Linked DNA regions of Homo sapiens: region 2 is linked to region 1. Evidence: promoter capture Hi-C in 16 types of primary human blood cells and fetal thymus (Javierre and others, 2016). All regions are on one chromosome and are shown on one strand. The core of a region is centred on a gene start or on the middle of the fragment in contact, and the rest is flanking DNA. Distances in the headings are between cores, read along the strand shown. Region 1 holds the start of TAOK2 (TAO kinase 2). Region 2 has its middle 22 kb from the start of QPRT.

What was found. The method cuts DNA at HindIII sites, captures the fragments that hold promoters and counts their contacts. A CHiCAGO score of 5 or more calls a contact.
Region 2: a contact is called between a fragment that was not itself captured here and the fragment with the promoter of TAOK2 in region 1, in 13 of 17 cell types (total CD8 T cells, activated CD4 T cells, M0 macrophages and 10 more). The highest score is 13.2, in total CD8 T cells.

Annotation. Positions count from the first base shown.
Region 1 is chr16:29,972,358-29,975,706 of GRCh38, forward strand. TAOK2 (TAO kinase 2) reads left to right here and starts at 1,511. Exons shown (of 16, transcript NM_016151.4): 1 at 1,511-2,291. TMEM219 (transmembrane protein 219) reads left to right here. Exons shown (of 6, transcript NM_001083613.2): 6 at 593-691. It overlaps LOC124903762, which reads left to right and starts at 1,265. Exons shown (of 2, transcript XM_047435036.1): 1 at 1,265-1,423; 2 at 1,640-2,278. The coding sequence starts at 1,265. The coding sequence ends at 2,278. RefSeq lists a silencer at 1,201-1,570 and enhancers at 1,994-2,765, 2,472-2,601. The HindIII fragment of the contact is 1,984 bases long and covers 1,215-3,198 here.
Region 2 is chr16:29,698,871-29,702,647 of GRCh38, forward strand. No RefSeq gene overlaps it. Among named protein-coding and RNA genes, the nearest start is that of QPRT, 22 kb to the left of the region's middle. RefSeq lists a silencer at 583-757, a cis regulatory region at 1,528-2,130 and an enhancer at 3,449-3,548. The HindIII fragment of the contact is 1,642 bases long and covers 631-2,272 here.

The sequences.
Region 1 (3,349 bases), core at 261-2,760:
GTTACCTTTAGAAAAAGCTGATTCCGTTAACAAGATCTTTGGAGGGAATCAGCTTCACAAACGTAGCAGTGGGTGGGGGTCATGTTGGTTAACCAGTTCACACATCAGCTCACTAAAGGAAAAAATATTTCTGCAAAAAATCTTCACTTGTCAGAGGGGGGTGCATGAAATTTGAGAGCCATGTGTTATGCATCCAGCTCTTGAACTGGTCTCAGCTTCAGCTGGCTGCAGTGCCCTAGGAAGTTACTATGGGAAAAGTGGAAATAGTTGAGGCCCAGGGAACTGATCAGGCCAGAGGAAGTGGAAGCTCAAGATCAACTGTGCTTATTTTGCTGATGGCTGGGCCTAAATGCCCCAACCACCTACTTGGGACAGGAAATGACAGGACCCTCTCAACCTTGGACTGGGAAAGGAGGGCTTCCTGGCCCCTGACAGACCCTGGGGTCCTGAGGCTACCTTAGTTGGGATTAAATGCCCGTATTGGTCTCTAGCTGTCACTCCCTCTGCTCCTTCCTCAATTTCTGCACACATCTCAGAGCTTCCTCTAGCAGCTCTTCGACCTGTTTTGTTGTTTTATTTTCTTTCTCCCCAGGTGTGAATCAACTTCTTGGGCCTTGGCTCTGAGTTGGAAAAGGTTTTAGAAAAAGTGAAGAGCTGGAATGTGGGGGAAAATAAAAAGCTTTTTTGCCCAGTGGCGTGTATGGTGTTTATTGGGGGTTGGATTGAGGTGGGGATTTTAGGGTAGGCAGGCTTAGAAGTTTTGGGGGACTCTTTCCTGTTGACTCTCTAGTTTGGACACAGGTTGGCATAGGGCATAGGTTACTTGAGCTCTCCCCATGGTTGACTTGGCTTTGGTAAACACCTGTCTTGTTTTCTTCTACGAAATAAAATGGATAATTACAGTTAGTTGGGCGGGTGGGGTGTCAGGTCATGGAAATGCTGTGACATAAATGCACTGTGACCTTGGCAAGTCTTGCAACCTGCAGCGCCTCAATTTCCGTAAGAGATTTGACCGATTGAGTTTTCCCAGCGTCGACGCGCAAAGATTCCTCGCACTTGGAGGCCCTTTTCCAGGTTAGATGGTTGCTAACCTCGGAGCAGTCTATTTTCCCGCCTTTTCCGCGCCCAGCAGCAGCTTCCTTTGCCCCTCCCAACTTCCACCCTGCGCGCAGTCGCAGATCGCCGCTGCTGTCCGTCCACCCGCGCCCCCTCAAAGCTTCCCCTAGCAACAAGCTCGGGCTCAGAGCGAAGGCGGGGCGAGCGCATGCGCTGCAGCTCTGTCCACCGCCAGTCGTGGGACAGAGTGCCGGGCTCCTCCCCTTGCAAGTCTAGCTCTTCTCCCCGCCTCCTCCGGCCTGGGGTCCGCGTGGCGGGGCGGGCGCGCACTCGGGCTTGGCGGCTGCCGGTCTCCCAGGCCGCGGCAGTGAGGAGAGAGGGCGGGGCTGAGTCCTCTGCGCCCCCGCCCCCTTTAGCCCGGCGTCCCTACCGCGCCTGCGCGCTCCCGCCCGGTCTCCATCTTGGAATTGGGAGGAAGAGGGAGAGGGAGACCGGGACGAGACCGGGGCTGTGGTGCGGAGAGAGGCTGAGACGGAGAAGAGGAGAGGCAGAGAGGGCGCGGGGACCGTCAGCAGCACCTTAGCTACAATCGTTCAGCTATTCTCGGAAGAGAGAAGGGAGAGGGAGGAGGCCGGGGCGGGAGTGGGGGCTGTCACCCTCGGACCCCGGCGTGAGAGGGGCCGTGCGGCCGGACGTCCTCGGGGTGGGCCCCCAGTCGGTGGCCGAAGACCTACAGCTCAGGCCCCTGGGTCCCAAATTTCCAGGCTTTGCCCCTCCTCCTTTCTCAGATACCCGGGTAACAGTCCTCATAGTCCAGATATCCGGGACTCGGGTCCCAACCTCTCTAAACCTGGGTCTCTGTTTCATAGAATTTCAAATATCAGGTTCAGGCCCCTGCGTGCACCAGTATCCGGGGTTCATTCCCCGGGCGTTCAAATATCGGATTCAGTCTCCATCCCGTTCAGATATTCGGGGTTCAGACCCCACAATCAGAAATCCGGAATTCGGCAGCTGTCGCCCTCGACGAGGGGGAGGACTGGACCGCGAGGTCAGATTAGGTTGTCACCCCCTCCCCTCCAGGGGAGGCTTCCCGGGCCCGCCCCTCAGGAAGGGCGAAAGCCGAGGAAGAGGTGGCAAGGGGAAAGGTCTCCTTGCCCCTCTCCCTGCTTGGCAGAGCCGCTGGAGGACCCCAGGCGGAAGCGGAGGCGCTGGGGCACCATAGTGACCCCTACCAGGTGAGACACGGGGTGCAGGGGCGCGGGTCCCTGTGTCTAGTTCTGAGAAGAAAGGGTGCGCCTTTCTGAGAAGCTGGACTTGGGTAGGCCCTCTCAGGATGGGGAAGCCCAGCTGAGCGAGTGGTCAGCCTCTGGCTAGCCTTGCCTTCTGTTGCCACCCCCTTCCCCTTCCTCTTCCCTTCATTGTGTCTGGTTGGTGGGGGACCTCAGGTGACAGGGTCTCTGATGTCACCGGCGTTCACACCCTAGGGTGCTTCAGCTAATCAGATGGATTTGCACTTCAGTCTTCTCTCCTTCACTTTGCCCCTCACAGCCACCTCTCCTCCCTGATATGTCCCGTTCTCCTGGCTATTCTGTGGTTTTGATTCCCATGCCTCTGATTCCCATGGTGGGTCTGCTTATCTGCTTTTCAGGCCTGGTCTGGTTGGATTTCTTGTCCTTGCAAGGAAGTGTGTGTATATGTGTTTGTGTGTATGCGTGTGTGTGTGTGCTTGGAGGTGCCTGGCAATGTTTTCCCCCAGCTGCAGTTACCTTCCAACCTCTTGCTGTGATGGTGTCAATAATCTCATCCATTTGTCAAACGATCTGTCTTTTACAAAGTGCTTTGACAGCCATTCTCTCATGTGACATCCCCGCATTCACCCTGTGGGGGCCTCTTTTATTGGCATCTTCCCATTTTACAGTTGAGAACGTTGAGGCCGAGAGAGGTTGCCCAAGGTCACACAGTGGCAGAACCAGAATTTGAACTCAAGTCCTCAATCACATCTTTCCCTGATGCATGCCTGGTTCTTGCCATCTCTTTTCCTCTGAGTTTGGGCTCGGCCAGGGGTCCCTAGGAGTCCAGGCTGGGGTGAGGTTTAAGAATGGGGATGAGATGAGCTTCCTTTCCAGGAGGGCTCTACTCAGAAGCTTTTCCTGATGGGAGCCTCTGGCTTTTGCCTCTGCCTCATGGAGTTTTCTATCCACTGTGACCTTCATCTTTACCCCAATCCCAGGGTTTGGCCTGGATTCCTGAGAGGGCTCTCTCCTGACAAATGGTAGCACTAGTGGCATCTTTT
Region 2 (3,777 bases), core at 202-2,701, 270 kb before region 1:
CTGAACTGGGGAAACTGAAGCCCCATGGGACCAGGGGTTCCACTGGGCATCAAGGGAGGAAAGTTGAGCCCCGGGGTGATCTGGGAACTGGGATCTGGGATCTGGGCAGGCATTGGGGCCTGACAGAGCAGAAGTGAGGAGAGGGTACCAGGAGCTGCAAACTCGGTGCCTCCAGGACCTATTCGGATAAAATAAATGGGTGGAACTGGAATAAGACAAAGTGGGGGTGCGCTGTGGCCAACTGGAAAATGCTCGTTGCAGCCACAGCGTTCCATTAAAAAAGCGAAAGGAACCTGCCTGCCTGAGTCTTAAGCTCCCCCTAAACCCAGAAATGGGTTAGCCCTCCAGTATCCTCCAGCTCTGAGAGCTGGGGCGGGCACTCCATTACTGGGGGAACAGGAAATGGATCCTGGGCACTCTAGGGCAACACACGCCCTCCTTGCAGGGAAATGGATTTCCAGGCAGGGGAGATGCATGGGCAGAGGTGGCTTGGATTGTTTGCTGTAAGATTTGAAGCTGTGATCAGGAGGTGGCTAGGAGATGGGCTGGGTCCAGACCACAAAATGGTAGATCGGAGGATTTGGACTCTGTCTCATGAGTGAGCTGGAAATCAAGCTGGAAAATCAGATAAGCTTATTCGCAGCTTCAATCCAGTCCGTTGCAGAAGGATGCATTTGAGGGGGCTAGAGCAGCTGCAGGGAGGCCAGGAGGAGCTGTGGAAGAGGACTTGAGTGTGGGTCATGGCCATGGGGTTTGGAGAGAAGTGATACAGTGTCTTCAGAGCTTCAGAAGGCAGAGGGAGTTCGATGGCTCAAGGCAGTTGGAAGAGTTGGGTGTGACTGAGGGGGTGGGGAAATGGGGCATGCGTGGCAGGCAAGGACTCTTATGCATCACCTCCCAGTCCCTTGTCCATCTGGCTACACTTCCTCTTTGCCTGGCCAGCCTAGGACCAAGCTGGGATCATTTCCCCAGGATGCCCCACAGACAATGGCAAATGTGCCCATCATAGCAGTTTGTTTAATGAAAATGATATGCTGTTGTGAGTACGGGATGTGCCAGCAATGCTGGCTACTGCATGAGACGGGAGCTAGCAGGGAGCACCTTCATCCAGGGTGTGCAGGTCCCCTTCCCTCAGTTAATGCTCGTGGGGGCGGGCGTTAGCCTCTCCACTTACCGAAGAGGAGACTGAGGCTTTATAAAGTTAAGAGAGCTGCTTAGGGTCACTCATCAATAAAGTGGTGGAGGCCAGTCATGGTGGCTCACACCTGTAATCTCAGCACTTTGGGAGGCTGAGGCAGGAGGATCACTTGAGCCCAGGAGTTCAAGACCAGCCTGGGCAACATAGTGAGACTCAATTTCTATTTTTAAAAAATTATCCAGCTGTGGTGGTGCACACCTGTAGTCCCAGCTACTCAGGAGACTGGGGTGAGAGGATCGCTTAAGCCTGGGCAGTTGAGGCTGCAGTGAGCTGTGACTGCACCACTGCACTCCAGCCTGGGTGACAGAGGCCCTGTCTCAAACAAAAATAAATAAATAAATAAATATATAAAGTGGTGGAGCAGTTTGAATTGTGTCATTCACTCATTCAATATTTAACTGAGCATCTACTGTGTGCCAGGCACTATTCTAGACAATGAACATACAACGAGTAAACAGATAAAAATCTCTGTCCTCAGGGAGTCTGTATGTTGGGGTTGGGGTGGGGGCGGGGAAGAATAGACAATGAAAAAATACTTAAGGAAAATATGTAGACACCAATTGTCCTGATGGCCACCCCTGATGGCCACCAGAGGGCACTGCAACCACGCGGCCCTCCGTTCGTCTCTAATTCCAGCTCCCTTTCCGGATTCCGAAGGCAATAGCCAAGGAGGCTATGAATACGCAGCATAGCATCTGCTCAAGAATCAACGCGAGGAGGCATTGGCAGCAGTTTTTTCTCCACCCACTTTTCCAGCCTCATCCCCTCATCAGACCCCCATCCAACTGCCCAGGGTACCCCTGTGACTTTTCAAAGCCCCGTGTACTCCAGATTCACCAGCTACTCACATTCACTCCCAGCCACCCATCCCCTCCCAAATACTGTCTGGGTTACCCACCAACCCCATCCATCCGCTCACCTGATGCCTGTCCTCCTCCTCACCCACCCACCCGCGCCCCTCGCCCCTTCCACCTGCTGTCCTGCCCACCGGAAACTGGCCAAATTGTCCCATAGATTTTTTTTTTTTTTTTTTTTTTTTTGGATAAACACAGAAATTGACATTCCTGGTCTTAAAGCTTGAAACTTAAATTTGCCTTATCTGAGTTCCTTCCCCAGGAAACTGACCCTCAGGCCTCCCAGATAGCATCAAGGAACTGAAACTCCTTTTCTTTACCCCCCTCTAATTCCTGTTTTCCCACCCACAGCTACATTTGCTCCCCACTATATAAACCCCCAATTGGAGTTTGTTGGAGAGATGGATTTGAGACTTATCTCCTGTCTCCTTGGCAGATGTCATCTGAATAAAGCCTTCTTTCCTGGCGATACTCATTGTCCCGGGATCCCAGATCAGCTTTCTGTGCAGTAAGCAATGGGACCTAGACTGAATCCCTGGCGTTTCGGTAATACACCCATCCATCCTGTCCACCCCCACCCATCCTGTCCACCCCCATCTATCCTGTCCACCCCCGACCCATCCTGTCCACCCCCGACCCATCCTATCCACCCCCTTGTGCTTCCATCCACTCATCACTCTTCCCACCCCTCCGCCCACCCACCATCCGATGCTACAGAAGCCCAGAACTGGGGCACTCAATCTAGAGGTCAAAGATGGCAAGAGGTCAAACCAGATTGACAGTGAGTCACCTCAGTGGATATGAGTTTTAGTGTGCTGAGGCCGTGAAAGGTAAAAGCATTTAAAAACAGCAAGGCCAGGCACGGTGGCTCACGCCTGTAATCCCAGCACTCTGGGAGGCCAAGGCAGGTGGATCACCTGAGGTCAGGAGTTCAAAGCTAGCCTGACCAACATGGGGAAATCCCTTCTCTACTAAAAATACAAACTTAGCTGGGCGTGGTGGCATGTGCCTGTAGTACCAGCTACTGCTACTTGGGAGGCTGAGGCAGGAGAATCGCTGAACCCGGGAGGCGGAGGTTTCCATGAGCCGAGATCACACCACTGCACTCCACCCCGGGGAACAAGATCGAAACTCTGTCTCAAAAAACAAAAACAAAAAACCCACAAAAATTAGCCAGGCGTAGTGGCGGGTGCCTGTAACCCAGCTACGCAGGAAGCTGAGGCACAAGAATCACTTGAACCTCAAAGGCAGAGGTTGCAGTGAGCCGAGATCATGCCACTGCACTCCAGCCTGGGCGACAGAGTGAGACTCTGTCCCAAAAAAAACCCAGAGCAAACAAACAAAAAACACAACGGCGAGACATTCTTAGCAAACCAACTATCTGCAAACAATTCAACGTCGGATCTTTAAAAAAATCCCGCTGTGGCATTATGCTGCGGACACATACATTAATTTATGGCTAGCCCTTCAAGACAACCAGGTGGGTAAAATTATGTAAATGTTCACCGCCTCTATACTTTGTTCCAATGACTTCCTGAGTAATTGATTGTTTTGCCAATTACTCAGCAACATTTAAGACCTGCTTCCGGAGGCCCTAAGTAGCTCAGCATTCTAAGACCGAAGTACTGAAGAAAATCTGCCTGTGTGGCTGTGAATAACATCTCCATCCGTCACTGTGCACATCAGATTTAGGCCAGATAACGCAGGCTTTATTTATTTCAGGTA